Linked DNA regions of Homo sapiens: regions 2, 3 and 4 are each linked to region 1. Evidence: promoter capture Hi-C in 16 types of primary human blood cells and fetal thymus (Javierre and others, 2016). All regions are on one chromosome and are shown on one strand. The core of a region is centred on a gene start or on the middle of the fragment in contact, and the rest is flanking DNA. Distances in the headings are between cores, read along the strand shown.

Region 1 (3,576 bases), core at 765-3,264:
TAGCCGGACGTGGTGGTGGGCACCTGCAGTTCCAGCTTCTCGGGAGGCTGAGGTAGGAGAATGGTGTGAACCCGGGAGGCGGAGCTTGCAGTGAGCCAAGATCGCACCACTGCACTCCAGCCTGGGTGAAAGAGTGAGACCCCATCTCAAAAAAAAAAAAAAAAAGAAGAAGAAGAAGAAAAAACATCGTAACTCTTGTTTCCTTAGGGTGTTTAGGTGTCCCGCCCAAATCAGCCTGGAGGAAATGTGAATGTTCCTGATGGATTAATTCAGATCTTCTCTCTGGCCAGCAGGAAGACACACCCATGCAGGTCACCTCTGTAAGAGTGATTTCAAGAGTATGTCATCTACTCCAGCCCTCCAAGAACAACTAGCCGCCTTGATCCAGTGTCTTTTATTATTTTTAATTTTTATATCCCCATTGTTAAGCAATCTGGTGTCTTTAAGGCTCCAACAAGCGACAGAGCTTGAAGAATGGGAAGAGAAGGCCTTGAAAGTCCCAGTGGCTCACAAACTATTCCATTCTGCAGCTGTCTTTAAGATGTCTCCTGGATCCCCTGATTTCTTTTTTTAATCCATAAATTTGTCTCCATAAGTGGGTCTCCCACCTGTCAAATGAGAGTAGGGTGCAGAGCTTGGATTCTGGTTCTTTCAGGTTCTAAGTCTTGGCCCAAGTGTCAGCTTTTTCTTTTTTCTAAGTTGGGGTGGGGATGGGGGTTGCGGAGGGCAGTGGCCTGACATCTCCTGCAAGTGTCATTTGTCACGCGAAAGCAAGCCTGACCCGAGGCAAGGCCCGCCTATCTGGTTAGGTTCCTTGCCCGCCCCCGGGGCCCTGGGCATCTGATGTAAGTTTGGCTCCCTCTTCCATCAGGGTCCTCCTGTCCCAGACTGATAAACCTTTAGAGCAATAAAGGTCGAGTCCGTCTCAACCTCCACCCACCCTCAGCAACCACTGTTAGCCTCTGAGCACTGCTGCCAGGCCAGATTTCCTGTGGCCCCGCCTGAATGATGAAACACGGGATGGCCATTGCACTCCCTGGCTTTTCCAGAGATCTCGGTCCTCGGTCCTGATGCAACCGTCTGGATCTTTTACACAAAGCGCTAGGCGAGCGCTGGGTGCTAGGACCCGGGGGGCGCCCGGGCAGGGAGGTCCGGCTGCGCTGCCTGCAGTCCGCGGGGAGGGCGGATGGGTCTGTGAGTCCGACTGCTGTGAATCCTCGCTTCCATCCCTGCACTGGGCGCTATGAACCCGGGCCCATCCACACTCCTCTAACCACTCTCCTCAAGCCCTCTCCTTGGGAGCAGTTGGAAGTGGAAGCAGATAGGGTTTGGGAGGAGGCAGGGATCCCCATTAACCTATGTCCTGGGCTGTAGAGTAACAGCCAGGATGGGCAGGTGGGGCCTTGGGGAAGGGGCAGCATGGTGCCCGGAGCTTCCCAGTCTGTGGACCCCACCCCCATATCCCGAGCCTTTGCAAAGCAGGGATAGAGGGGGTAAGGGCGCGAGGGCAGGCCGGGCTAACGTCTGCTCCTGCGCCGCCGTCCCACGGGCATCCCCCCCGTGTGTGCCCAGTTGTTCCCGAAGCTTTAGGATCCAAGACGCTGGGGGCAACCATTTTCCTTGCCCGCCGCCCCCTCACGCTTCCCTGCCTCTCCTCCTAGCCTGGTCACGGGCTGTCCCCTCCTCCAGCAATGCAACCCTATAATAAACAAGTCTTTCCTTGATCCTCCCCTGCCGCGAGCGCCCTCGGGGACCTTGGCAGCTGCAGCCGCCGCGGATCCTTTCCAGAAAGGGGGCGTGGCGGTGGGTCGGGGTTCGACTGCGAGCTTTCTGGGGCTCAATGGAGGCGGGGCCCGGCCGCTGTCACCGGGCAGGAGAGAACGTTGCTTACGTGCGCCCGGAGTCCATTGGCCAAGGCGGGCCACACTCCCGGGTCTGGATTGGGTCGTGGCGCAGAGAAGGCGTGGCCTCGCCGCGCTAGTCCTTATAGGCTGCTCCGCGCTGGTGCTAGGGCGCAGCAGGCCAAGGGGGAGGTGCGAGCGTGGACCTGGGACGGGTCTGGGCGGCTCTCGGTGGTTGGCACGGGTTCGCACACCCATTCAAGCGGCAGGACGCACTTGTCTTAGCAGTTCTCGCTGACCGCGCTAGCTGGTGAGTGTCCCTTCTGTGTGTGGGTCCTAGAGCTCGCGGTCTGGTCTGGTCTGGTCCCCAGACTGACGCCTGGTCGGTCCCCCTCTTGTCTTACAGCGGCTTCTACGCTCCGGCACTCTGAGTTCATCAGCAAACGCCCTGGCGTCTGTCCTCACCATGCCTAGCCTTTGGGACCGCTTCTCGTCGTCGTCCACCTCCTCTTCGCCCTCGTCCTTGCCCCGAACTCCCACCCCAGATCGGCCGCCGCGCTCAGCCTGGGGGTCGGCGACCCGGGAGGAGGGGTTTGACCGCTCCACGAGCCTGGAGAGCTCGGACTGCGAGTCCCTGGACAGCAGCAACAGTGGCTTCGGGCCGGAGGAAGGTGAGCGGTGGGCGGGTGCCGACGCGACTCGAGGGGCCGGGAAGGTGGGGAAGCCCCGGTGCTGGAAGGGGTCAGAGCCGCCTTGGCTTCCTATCCCATCGGGACCCAGATTGCTTGGGGGCAGGGGGAATTGGAGTATAAGGTGAGTGAGGCGGAAACTGAGGCACGGAGTGGGAAGGAGCGTTGGTTTCTTAAGGAAACAGCACCTCCCCCGCCTGTGCGTTTCGTTTTGAAGCCGCTCTAATACCCCTTCCTGTGTGCTCTCCTTTCCAGACACGGCTTACCTGGATGGGGTGTCGTTGCCCGACTTCGAGCTGCTCAGTGACCCTGAGGATGAACACTTGTGTGCCAACCTGATGCAGCTGCTGCAGGAGAGCCTGGCCCAGGCGCGGCTGGGCTCTCGACGCCCTGCGCGCCTGCTGATGCCTAGCCAGTTGGTAAGCCAGGTGGGCAAAGAACTACTGCGCCTGGCCTACAGCGAGCCGTGCGGCCTGCGGGGGGCGCTGCTGGACGTCTGCGTGGAGCAGGGCAAGAGCTGCCACAGCGTGGGCCAGCTGGCACTCGACCCCAGCCTGGTGCCCACCTTCCAGCTGACCCTCGTGCTGCGCCTGGACTCACGACTCTGGCCCAAGATCCAGGGGCTGTTTAGCTCCGCCAACTCTCCCTTCCTCCCTGGCTTCAGCCAGTCCCTGACGCTGAGCACTGGCTTCCGAGTCATCAAGAAGAAGCTGTACAGCTCGGAACAGCTGCTCATTGAGGAGTGTTGAACTTCAACCTGAGGGGGCCGACAGTGCCCTCCAAGACAGAGACGACTGAACTTTTGGGGTGGAGACTAGAGGCAGGAGCTGAGGGACTGATTCCTGTGGTTGGAAAACTGAGGCAGCCACCTAAGGTGGAGGTGGGGGAATAGTGTTTCCCAGGAAGCTCATTGAGTTGTGTGCGGGTGGCTGTGCATTGGGGACACATACCCCTCAGTACTGTAGCATGAAACAAAGGCTTAGGGGCCAACAAGGCTTCCAGCTGGATGTGTGTGTAGCATGTACCTTATTATTTTTGTTACTGAC
Region 2 (3,576 bases), core at 363-2,862, 430 kb before region 1:
TTTCAGGAGCGAAGCCAAGGGAAGTAGCGGCAGCCAGGCTGCAAAGGCAGACAGATCTCAGGTGCTTGGGGGAATGGTCTCACCTGCCCCACACACCCTAAGGTGAGGGCTCAACCCCGTGGGCGATACTGCAGGAAGCTTCAGGGATTTCTGGGAGGGACAGGACAGGCAAGCTCATGTGTGGGTCTCAACCACCCAGGCACAAGGTGGCAGAACTGAAGAGGAGGTGGGAGATACCAATGTCAGGCACCTAACTGGAAGGCGAATTCAAAAACGTCCACATGAGAAATGGAAGCAGCAAGAGCCAAGAGAGGCTAACACAGAGTCCAAGAGAACAAGATGGGCAAATGGCACTAACAGGGTTCCATGAGAAGTTGTGCAGACTCAAAGGGAAAACAGAACAGCAAGGGCCAATAGCACCAGGAGAGACACGCCCATGAGCAACGTGAGCTGCTCAGCAGAGGCCAGGGAGGGGAGGGCCTGGGGCCCCACCCAGAGAGTCCCCTGGAGGACTGGGGATGAGTGACGGGAGAAGGAATGTTTCAGAGACACGCGGTCATCTCCAAGGAGGGGGAGAATCCCGTACACCTTCCACCAGGGTGTGGAGCTGGTATGAGTGGCTCCAGACCACAGATCTCTGAACAATGGGTGCAAGGAAGCAGACCACAGCTCCAGGTAAAGAATGCATTTAACATCCACCCAGGGGCATAAAAAGAGAACGGATTAGCTGGACGTGGTGGTGCACGCCTCAGTAGTCCCAGCTACCAAGGAGGCTGAGGTGGGAGGATCGATTGAGCCCAGGAGGCGGAGGTTGCACTCCAGTGCCCCAGCACCACTGCACTCCAGCCTGGGCAATAAAGCCAGAGCCTGTCTCAGAAAAAAAAGAGAGAATGAGTGGCATCATTAGGTGATGACCTCACCAACAGTGGAAGCAAACAAGCAGAAACAAAATGCATAACTTATGAGCAATTCTATATAAGAGGGATCCTTTCAGTGGTGGGCTGAACTAAAAGAGCTCCGAGGAGCTCCAAGTCTTCACTCTAACAAGGCAGATAACATTTTCAGCATTTATAACTAATAAATAAACACTACCCAAAAACACTTTCTCGTGAGTTATTTCTCAAAACATGTGGCCAGCAAAGCCTTTAATCTCTATTCTCATCCTCCCACACCCTACCCCCAAATACCAGCTTCCTTCTCTGAGGCAGTATGCTGAACTCCAAAAAAGTTCTTAGAATGTTTGACCTCCTAAAGATTTCCAATTAAATGTGTCATAAAGACATGAACAGCACTCGGGGCAAATTGAGCACTTCACTTCTTAGTTCAAGGGCCTGGCAAGACAGCTTGGAACAACGGGCTCTTTTTTTTTTCTTTTGAGACAGAGTCTTGCTCTTGTCGCCCAGGCTGGAGTGCAGTGGCACGATCTCGGCTTACTGCAGCCTCCACTTCCCGGGTTCAAGCGATTCTCCTGCCTCAGCCTCCCAACTAGCTGAGATTATAGGCGCCTGCCACCATGCCCAGCTAATTTTTGTATTTTTAGTAGAGACAGGGTTTTGCCGTGTTGGCCAGGCTGGTTTCGAACTCCTGACCTCGTGATCCACCCGCCTCGGCCTCCCAAAGTGCTAGGATTACAAGCGTGAGCCACCATGCTTGGCCCCACAATGGGACTTTTTTAAAGACATAGATTTCAGGGCCATGTGCGGTGGCTCATGCCTGTAACCCCAGTACTTTGGGAAGCTGAGGCAGGAGAATCATTTTGAGCTCACAAATCAAGACCAGCCTGGCAACACGACAAAACCCCATTTCTACAAAAAATACAAAAATTAGCTGGGTGTGGTGGCAGGTGCCTGTAATCCCAGCTACTCAGGAGGCTGAGGCAGGAGAATCGCTTGAACTCAGGAGGCAGAGGTTGTAGTAAGCCGAGATCACGCCACTGCACTCCTGCCTGGGCGACAGAGCGAGACTCCATCAAAAATAAGAAAAACAAATAAGCCATTATTATTCTATGTATTTGTTGTTTACAGTCAAACCTAAGCCCAACTAATATACATACTTAATCAACGACCTCGCTTACAGAAAGGTCTCCCAACAAGTGTTTCCTGGCTTACCCCAGTGAGGATACCGAAAAGCCCAGTACACAACATAATCACCAAAGATTTTCTGAAGCAATCTTAAAATGACAGGACAACATTTCCTAGAATGTGATAAAACAATCAGTCTCATTATTTTAGCCATACAACATATGCTTTTCCTTTTAAATATTTTAGTAACATGCTAAGTACAATTTGAATCTAGCTACCAGAAAAAAAAAAAAGAGGTAACAGAAAATGCATGCAGCCTCCCAGTGCTGACAATCAGAGCCTACATTCCACAGGGCAGCAGATCTGCTGCCTGGGTAAGGCGGCACCATGGCAACAGGCAGGTTGCTAGGAAACCAAGAGAGGATAACCCCTGGAGGAGCGGCTTCTACCGCAGGGCATTTCTCAGAGGAATTCATGCACTTCCATCCCCTAAGAGCAGGAGATAATGCAATGCACTCAACACTAGCTACTCAAACAGCTATTGCCACAAATATCTTCTATGGCAAAGAGCACTTGTCTCTTCCTCATAGATAATCCTGCCTTTGGAAAACAGTCTGCAGAGCAGAATAAAAACACAGCTCACTGAATCATTCAGAATAGTATACGCTCAGAGGTAGTCTCCCTTGATTTGGAGGAGTTAAGGTCCAAGAGTCCTCATATCACATAAGAAATCAGTGGCAATAAAGCTCTTAAGCTCACTAGGCTGACATCCCATCACCTCTGGCCTCAAAGTGTTAAGACAAAGGTCCTTTCTTCCCTGCTTCTCCTCTGCTGCTACAGCCTCGCTTCTTAATTTTCCTTACAAGCCAGATGATTCCAGGGCAGGACATTATCTACACGGAGAAGGCAACAGAGTCCTCAGGGAAATTACCTTGTGCAGTAATGACTGAGGCTGGGGACAAGAATGCAATCTTCTCAGATTGTATGCAATGGAGGCTTAATTAATTTGGGGACAATTCCTAACTAGTTCATTCAAGGGTACTGTAGTCCAATAAAAACTCCTAACAAAGCTTTTCTTCCAAAGCATCAACATATCAGGTGATGATCAAAGAAGAACTTAGATCACCTTAGATAAGATTACATGGTAATCCATGACTGAAAAACTAGCCCTTGGCAGGACTATCCAGATTCCAGCCAAGTGAGCAAGTGGAGGCAGGGGTCAGAGGCGGGCTCTGCATGGCTCCCCATCCTCGAGAAAGCTCCACTGCAGATCCAGCATGCTGCACCGCAGTTGGCACAGGCACCCACACAAACTGGTGCTGGCTCCCACACTGAGCATTGCTGACCAGCTGCGTGGTCTCTGCACATTTGCAGAAGATAATCATATGCTGAAAAAGGTTTCATGCAAACCTCATTAAAGAAATTCAGTATTCTGAACCTGTCTCATCTACTGTTTACTAACTTAAAAGTTCCAGATATATGTGAGTCTACTATAAATGTCACTTTTGGCTTCCTTCAGTTAGTACTTTATAGGAATACTGCCTTCACTTGAAAT
Region 3 (3,576 bases), core at 314-2,813, 390 kb before region 1:
TGGCCTCCCAAAGTGCTGGGATTACAGGTGTGAGCCACCGTGCCCAGCCCTTTTTTTTCTTTTTTTATTACTGGCTTAGGTTTGAGCAGTGATCATTTTAAGTTTTTTTTGTAGAGATGGGGTCTCACTGTGTTACCCAGGCTGGTCTCAAATTCCTGGCCTCAAGCAATCCTCCTGCCTCAGCCTCCCAAAGTGTGGGGATTACAAGTGTGGGCCACCATGCCTGGTCTTCCTGTTTTTCAAATAAAATTACTTTTTATTTATTTATTTATTTATTTATTTTTAAAGATGGACTCTCGGCCAGGCAAGGTGGCTCACACCTATAATCCCAGCACTTTGGGAGGCCGAGGCAGGTGCATCACCTCAGGTCAGGAGTTTGAGACCAGCCTCACCAACATGGTGAAACCCCATCTCTACTAAAAATATAAAAATTAGCCAGGCGTGGTGGCGGGCACCTGTAATCCCAGCTACTTGGGAGGCTGAGGCAGGAGAATCGCTTGAACCTGGGAGGAGGAGGTTGCAGTGAGCTGAGATTGCACCACTGCACTCCAGCCTGGGCAACAACAGTGAAACCCTGTCTCAAAAAAAGAAAAAAGAAAGAAAAAAAAAAAAAACAAAAAACAGAGATAGAGTCTCTTTTGGCTCTCTAATGCCCATGGGATCAATGCCAAATTCATCTCCCTGGCAGTCAATGCTCTATTCTCCTTCTCCCCTCCACCTCTCCACCTCTCCAGCATGCTCCCACAACATTCTGCCCCAGTGACCTCAACCTGCAATGCCCACCTGTCCCATGGACCTCCCTGCCCATGCCTCTACTCCAGCCAATACTGGCTCATGTGTACACACCATGCTGTGTACCGTCTGTGCTTTGCTCATGCCGCTTGCCTCACCCGAGTGCCTCTCCTCCCCTCGGCTCGTCTGGTGCCTGTTTACTCTGCAAGGCCAGCGCATGCCCCCTGCATCCTGGAGGTCTCCTCTCATCATCCCAGCCCCACCGGGCTCCTGCAGCATTTCTGAGGTCTGTATCTTTCAGAGAGCTACGCTGCACATTGCCTGCTGCTCCCAGCAATCCTTACACCTTTCACCCCTCTCCCCATGTGTTTACTGGGCACCTAGGGCATGCTGAACACTGTTTGGGATAAAACAGATCCAAGGCTTAATGAGACAGATACCATCTCTGCCCTCCAGAGGTTACAGTCTGCGGTCAGGGGTGGGGGGGGGACCTACAAGAGAAGGGGCAGAGACCACAGGGCATGTGGTCAGATTTAAAGGGAGGGGCTGCCTCGGAAGCCACCCAGTCCAGAATTGGGCAGCCGTAGAAGGCTTCTGGGAGCAGGCGGATCTGAGCTGAGACCCAAGCATAGGCAAGAGTCAGCCTGGCAGAGGGGTGGGGCACAGAGCTCATCTTCCAGGCAGAGTCCTGGGTGCACATGTGTCTGGCAGAAGGAGGGCTGAGCTGGGCATGAGGTGGAAGTGAGCCGGGCCATGCAGAGCTCAGCAGGCCTGAAGGGGAAGCCATGACTGTCTCACAATGCCTCCCTCAGCATGTGATGCTAAGGGGCAGAAGCTGGCTCCCAGGCACATCTCAAGGGCACCAAGCCAGGCACCCCACAGAAGGCCTTCAGGAACCCTAGTTAAATAGGTGACTAAGCAAATTATTTCATGAATAAATGTAACAATGAACTGATACATTTGAAGGAAACCAGAGTATTCCACCCCTAAAATATGCCTCCTTGACATTTTTTTGTTTTGTTTTGTTCTGTTTTGTTTTTTTGAGACAGTCTTGCTCTGTCACCCAGGCTGGAGTGCAATGGCACGATCCTGGCTCACTGCAACCTCTGCCTCCCAGGTTCAAGCAATTCTCCTGCCTCAGCCTTCCGAGTAGCTGGGATTACAGGTGTGAGTCCAATTCTGTATTTTTAGTAGAGACAGGGTTTCACCATATTGGTCAGTCTGGTCTCAAACTCCTGACCTCAGGTGATCCACCCGCCTTGGCCTCCCGAGTAGCTGGGATTACAGGCATGAGCCACTGTGCCCGGCCTTTGTGTGTGTGTGTGTGACAGGGTCCTGATATGTCACCTAGGGTGGAGTGCAGTGGCATAATCTAGGCTCACTGCAGCTTTGACCTCTGGGGCTCAATCGATCCTGCCCCCAAGTGGCTGGGACTACAGGTTTGAGCCACCATGCCCAGCTAACTGTAAATTTTTTTGTAGAGACGAAGGTCTTGCTATGTTGCCCAGGCTGGTCTCAAACTCCAGGCCTCAAGTGATTCCCCCGCCTCAGCCTCCCAAAATGCTAGGATTACAGGTGTGAGCCACTGTGCCCAGCCTTCAAAAGATATTTTTGAACTGAGGTTTCTCCCACATGATGGGCATAGCACGTGTTAAAAATAAAATTGCTTCTTTTTCTTGTCAATCTATCTTTTGTTTGAGGAGAATGCCTCAATCACGAACTTGTGAGGGATGAACAAAGATGATGTCTTTTCTCTCCTTCCCATGCATGTGGGAATGGGTGAATCCAGGGTTTCTAGTGCTGTTTCCCTGAGTCTTTTTTTTTGAGATAGAGTCTCACTCTGTCACCCAGGTGCAATCTCGGCTCACTGCAACCTCTGCCTCCTGGGTTCAAACGATTCTCCAGTCTCAGCCCCCTGAGTAGCTGGGATTACAGGCACCCAGTACCATGCCCGGCAATTTTTTTTTTTTTTTTAGACTGGAGTGCAGTGGCACGATCTGAGCTCACTGCAACCTCCGCCTCTGGGTTCAAGCAATTTTCTGCCTCAGCCTCCCAAGCAGCTGGGATTACAGGTGGCTGCCACCATTCCTGGCTAATTTTTGTATTTTTAGTAGAGACGGGGTTTCACCACGTTGGCCAGGCTGGTCTTGAACTCCTGACCTTGTGATCCACTCACCTCAGCCTCTCAAAGTGCTGGGATTACAGGTGTGAGCCATCATGCCCAGCCTCCCTGAGTCTTCAGTAACAATCTTGTTTGGCCTCTGGGCAGGCCAAGGAGGAGGAAAGTTACTTGGAGCTTCTCTACCCTGATTTTCAAGGAAGGGAAAACAGAACGAACCGTGAGCCAACAGGCCCTGTTTTCTTTCTCTTGGGAGAAGGCTGGCCTTGGGGAGATGTTCTAGGAAAGGTCACCTTTCCACTCCATGGTGCCAGGTAGGAAACCAGAAGGCCTTCCTTACAAACGAAGGGAACATTTCTTGCCAGATCTCTGGAGGAAAACTTGGAGGGAAAGGTTTGCTGCTATCCTGGAGAAGAAAGATAACAGTACTATCCAACCCCATCTGACCTCTGGAAGGCAAAGTCAGGCACATTATCTTTCAAGCCACGTGGGAAGGAAGGCAAGAGCTAGAGGAGAGACATGGAGGAGGCCCAGGGAGGGCAAGTGATTTTCCCAAAGCTACATAGCCAGCCTTAGACCCAGCTATGAGTTGAACCCACAGGACCTTCTCTGTCCATTAAACCACGGGGAAGGAGGACAGAAGCAGGGAAAACTGAGTCTGTTTGCAGGAAGAAGATTCAGAAAAGCAACTGGACTTACTAGAAAACGAAAGAAAAATTATCTTT
Region 4 (3,576 bases), core at 425-2,924, 380 kb before region 1:
CTGAACCTGGGAGGTGGAGGATGCAGTGAGCCAAGATCACAACATTACACTCCAGGCTGGGCGACAAGGGCAAAACTTTGTTTCAAAATAAAAAAATAAATAAAAATTTTAAAAGCCCCAACATATTGCAACAGACTGAATGCAGAAGTAGACATGAGGCTCCAACAGTCTTTAATTAAGACAGTTGCTTGAGAGATTTGCAAAAGTGTAAAACAATGCTGTTTTTCTCACTAAATTTCTCTTTGTTTTGGAAATGAAGGTATTTTTCGTAAAAATATGTTTATGTTTACATGTAATGAGTTCATTATTACTTTTTGATAAATTAATAAATATCTGGGTCCTCAATAATTCTTTTAAAAATTTTTTTATAATTTAAAATAGAGATGAGGGCTGGGCTCGGTGTCTCGCGCCTGTAATCCCAGCACTTTGGGAGGCCAAGGTGGGCAGATCACTTGAGGTCAGGAGTTCAAGAACAGCCTGGCCAACATGGTGAAACTCTGTCTCTACTAAAAATACAAAAATTAGCCGGGCGTGGTGGCTCATGCCTGTAAACCCAGCTACTCGGAGGCTGAGGCAGGAGAATCGCTTGAAACCAGGGGGCGGAGGTTGCAGTGAGGGGAGATCACCCCCCTGCACTCCAGCCTGGGCGACAGAGCAAGACTCCTTTTCAAAAAAACAAACATGTAGCAATGAAGCCATTAAAATAATTTATTTTTTATTTCTTTTTCTTTTTGTATGAATCGACTTTGGATAAGAAAAAAATCTACTTTTTAAAGAGCTGGGTTTGTGTGGTGGGACACCTATTGGGTGCAACAATGTGGAGAACACTGCCCTCTGGCGGTCACTCCCAGTATAGTACCAGAGAGGTGGGGAAGCTTCCCTTGCTATTCTAGGACTGACCATGAGACGGCAGAAGAATACAGTATTTGCTTCTTTTCTATTTCTATTATACTTGCTTTTCTTTTTCTTTTCTATTTCTATTTGCTTCTTTTCTATTTTCTGTTCCTTCTTTTCTATTTTTTTAAATTTAAGTGTAGCTAAGGGGACTCACTATGTTGCCCAGGCTGATCCCCGACTCCTCGGGTCAAGTGACCCTCTCACCTTGGTCTCTCAAAGTGCTGGAATTATGGGCATGAGCCACCATGCCTGGCCTAAAACCCTGTTCCTAATCTCTAGGTTGGTCCTCAAAGCCTCACACTCAGCCGGGTGCCCAGGGATTGGGGCAGGAGTGACCTCACAGAGCTGCCCACAGTAATGATGCCTGAAGTGCTCCAGCTAGCAGGCTAAGCCTTGTCTTCTCTGCCTCCACAGCAACTCATAGCAGCCCTAGGGAAGGCCACATCCCAGACCCCTAAACCCAGAGAGACAGAACGCAGACCTGGGTGGCAAGGACTCAGTAAGTTATTGAGTGCCAAACCGGGCCACCACTGTGCTTGGCTTTAGGAAAACTTGACATCTATAAAACTTTTAATCTCTAGTAGGTGCTCAAAAAAGCCATTCACTCTTTCATGTAACCAAGAAAAGATGTTTGAGCACCTGCAAAGTGCCAGGCACTGTCCTAGTCACTGAGGACACAGTGAGAAGCAAAAGGGGCCCAGGTCCTGCCCACATGGGACTTATAATTTGGTGAGGGAACAAAAAAAATTTAGTCTCAAAAAACCAAAGTTTGGTTAGATGCTGTGAAAAAGGATGGGGTTCTTTAAGGGCACCTGAGAGAGGGGTCTTGTTTTTCCTGGAAGCCAAAAAGAAGCATAAAGGTTGATACGGTTTGGACGTTTGTCCTCCAAATCTCATGTTGAAATGTGATTCCTGGCTGGGCATGGTGGTTCATGCCTGTAATCCCAGCACTTTGAGAGGCCAAGGCAGGCAGATCACTTGAGGTCAGGAGTTCGAGGCCAGCATGGACAACATGGTGAATCCCCATCTATACTAAAAATACAAAACTTAGCTGGGCATGGTGGCACGTGTCTGTAATCCCAGCTACTCAGGAGGCTGAGGGAGGACAATAGCTTGAGCCTGGGAGACAGAGGTTGCAGTGAGCCGAGATTGTAGTGAGCCGAGATTGTGCCACTGCTCTCCAGCCTGGCTGACAGAGCAAGACTCTGTCTCAAAACAAAACAAACAAACAAAACTACCTCTTAACTTAGTCCCCTCGCATTTTTTTTTTTTTTTTTTTGAAACAGAGTCTCAGTCTGTTACCCAGGCTGGTGTGCATGCAGTGGCACAATCATGGCTCACCTTCCACCACAGACTACAAACATGTGCCACCACATCCGACTAAGTTTTTTTTGTTTTTTTTGTTTTTTGGGGTTTTTTTTTTTTTTTTTGTAGAGATGGGGATCTCACCATGTTGCCCAGTCTGGTCTCAAGCTCCCAAGCTCAAGTGATCCTCTCATTTCGGCCCCCTAATGTATTGTCATTCCAGCCATGAGCCATGGTGCCCAGCATCTCCTGCTTTTTAACTTTGTTTTTAAAAGCTTCTTGATTTTTGTTTCAATTTAATACTGTCTTGGCAACTTTTTAACTTTTTGTTGTTTAGTCTCACTCTCTTGCCCAGGCTGGAATGCAGTGGCCAGATCTCAGCTCACTGCAACCTCCACCTCCCAGGTTCAAGCGATTCTCTTGCCTCAGCCTCCCGAGCAGCTGGGATTACAGGTGCCCACCACCATGCCCAACTAATTTTTGCAATTTTAGTAGAGACGGAGTTTCACCATGTTGGCCAGGCTGGTCTCCAACTCCTGACCTCAGGTGATTCACCCATCTCGGCCTCCCAAGGTGCTGGGATTACAGGCATGAGCCACTGCGCCCAGCCCAATTCTGCTATTAAAGGACTCTGATGCATTCTTCAGTATGCCAATTGCATTTTTCAGCTCCAGAAATTCTGCTCTGGATGTTTTTTAATTATTTCAATCCCTTTGTTAAATGTATCTGATAGAATTCTGAATTCCTTCTCTGTGTTATTTTGAATTTCTTTGAGTTTCCTCAAACAGAATTCTGTCTGAAAGGTCAGAGCTCTGTTTCTCCAGGATTGGTCCCTGGTGTCTAATTTGGTTCATTTGGGGAGGTCATGTTTTCCTGGGTCATGCTGCTAGCAGATGTTCTTCGGTGTCTGGGCATTGAAGAGTTCAGTATTTATTGCAGTCTTCATTGTCTAGCCTTAGTTGTCTTTTTTTTTTTTTTTTTTTTTTTTGAGATCAAGTCTCACTTTGTCACCCAGGCTGGAGTGCAGTGGTGCGATCTCGGCTCACTGCAACCTCTGCCTTCCGGGTTCAAGCAATTCTCTGCCTTAGCCTCCCAAGTAGCTAGGATTACAGGCGCCTGCCACCACGCCTGGCTAATTTTTGTATTTTTAGTAGAGATGGGGTTTCACCATCTTGGCCAGGCTGGTCTTGAACTCCTGGACTCGTGATCCACTCTCCCCAGCCTCCCAAAGTGCTGGGATTAGAGGCGTGAGCCACCGCGCCCAGCTGTACCCGTCCTTCTTAGGAAGACTTTCCAGATATTGAAAGGACTTGGGTGTTGTGATCTAAGCTGTATCTGCTTTAGGGGGCACCCACACCCAGTAACACTGTGGTT

Evidence for each region. Contacts are between HindIII fragments. The CHiCAGO score rates a contact against its expected background, and 5 or more counts as called.
Region 2: a contact is called between a fragment that was not itself captured here and the fragment with the promoter of DDIT4 in region 1, in 1 of 17 cell types (total B cells). The highest score is 5.0, in total B cells.
Region 3: a contact is called between a fragment that was not itself captured here and the fragment with the promoter of DDIT4 in region 1, in 1 of 17 cell types (fetal thymus). The highest score is 6.7, in fetal thymus.
Region 4: a fragment that was not itself captured here is called in contact with the fragment with the promoter of DDIT4 in region 1 in 5 of 17 cell types (fetal thymus, total B cells, naive CD4 T cells and 2 more); the score reaches 9.0 in fetal thymus.

The regions. Positions count from the first base shown.
Region 1 is chr10:72,271,910-72,275,485 of GRCh38, forward strand. It overlaps DDIT4 (DNA damage inducible transcript 4), which reads left to right and starts at 2,015. Exons shown (of 3, transcript NM_019058.4): 1 at 2,015-2,151; 2 at 2,248-2,512; 3 at 2,786-3,576. The coding sequence starts at 2,308. The coding sequence ends at 3,279. DDIT4-AS1 (DDIT4 antisense RNA 1) reads right to left here and starts at 1,802. Exons shown (of 2, transcript NR_186445.1): 1 at 941-1,802; 2 at 1-608. RefSeq lists enhancers at 512-1,035, 1,036-1,559, 2,270-2,389. The HindIII fragment of the contact is 3,971 bases long and covers 1,583-3,576 here.
Region 2 is chr10:71,837,882-71,841,457 of GRCh38, forward strand. The region is part of intron 1 of PSAP (prosaposin); the gene reads right to left. Among named protein-coding and RNA genes, the nearest start is that of PSAP, 12 kb to the right of the region's middle. RefSeq lists an enhancer at 305-1,073. The HindIII fragment of the contact is 2,953 bases long and covers 137-3,089 here.
Region 3 is chr10:71,879,730-71,883,305 of GRCh38, forward strand. No RefSeq gene overlaps it. Among named protein-coding and RNA genes, the nearest start is that of LINC03139, 3.4 kb to the left of the region's middle. The HindIII fragment of the contact is 6,930 bases long and covers 1-3,576 here.
Region 4 is chr10:71,895,734-71,899,309 of GRCh38, forward strand. No RefSeq gene overlaps it. Among named protein-coding and RNA genes, the nearest start is that of LINC03139, 19 kb to the left of the region's middle. The HindIII fragment of the contact is 1,602 bases long and covers 874-2,475 here.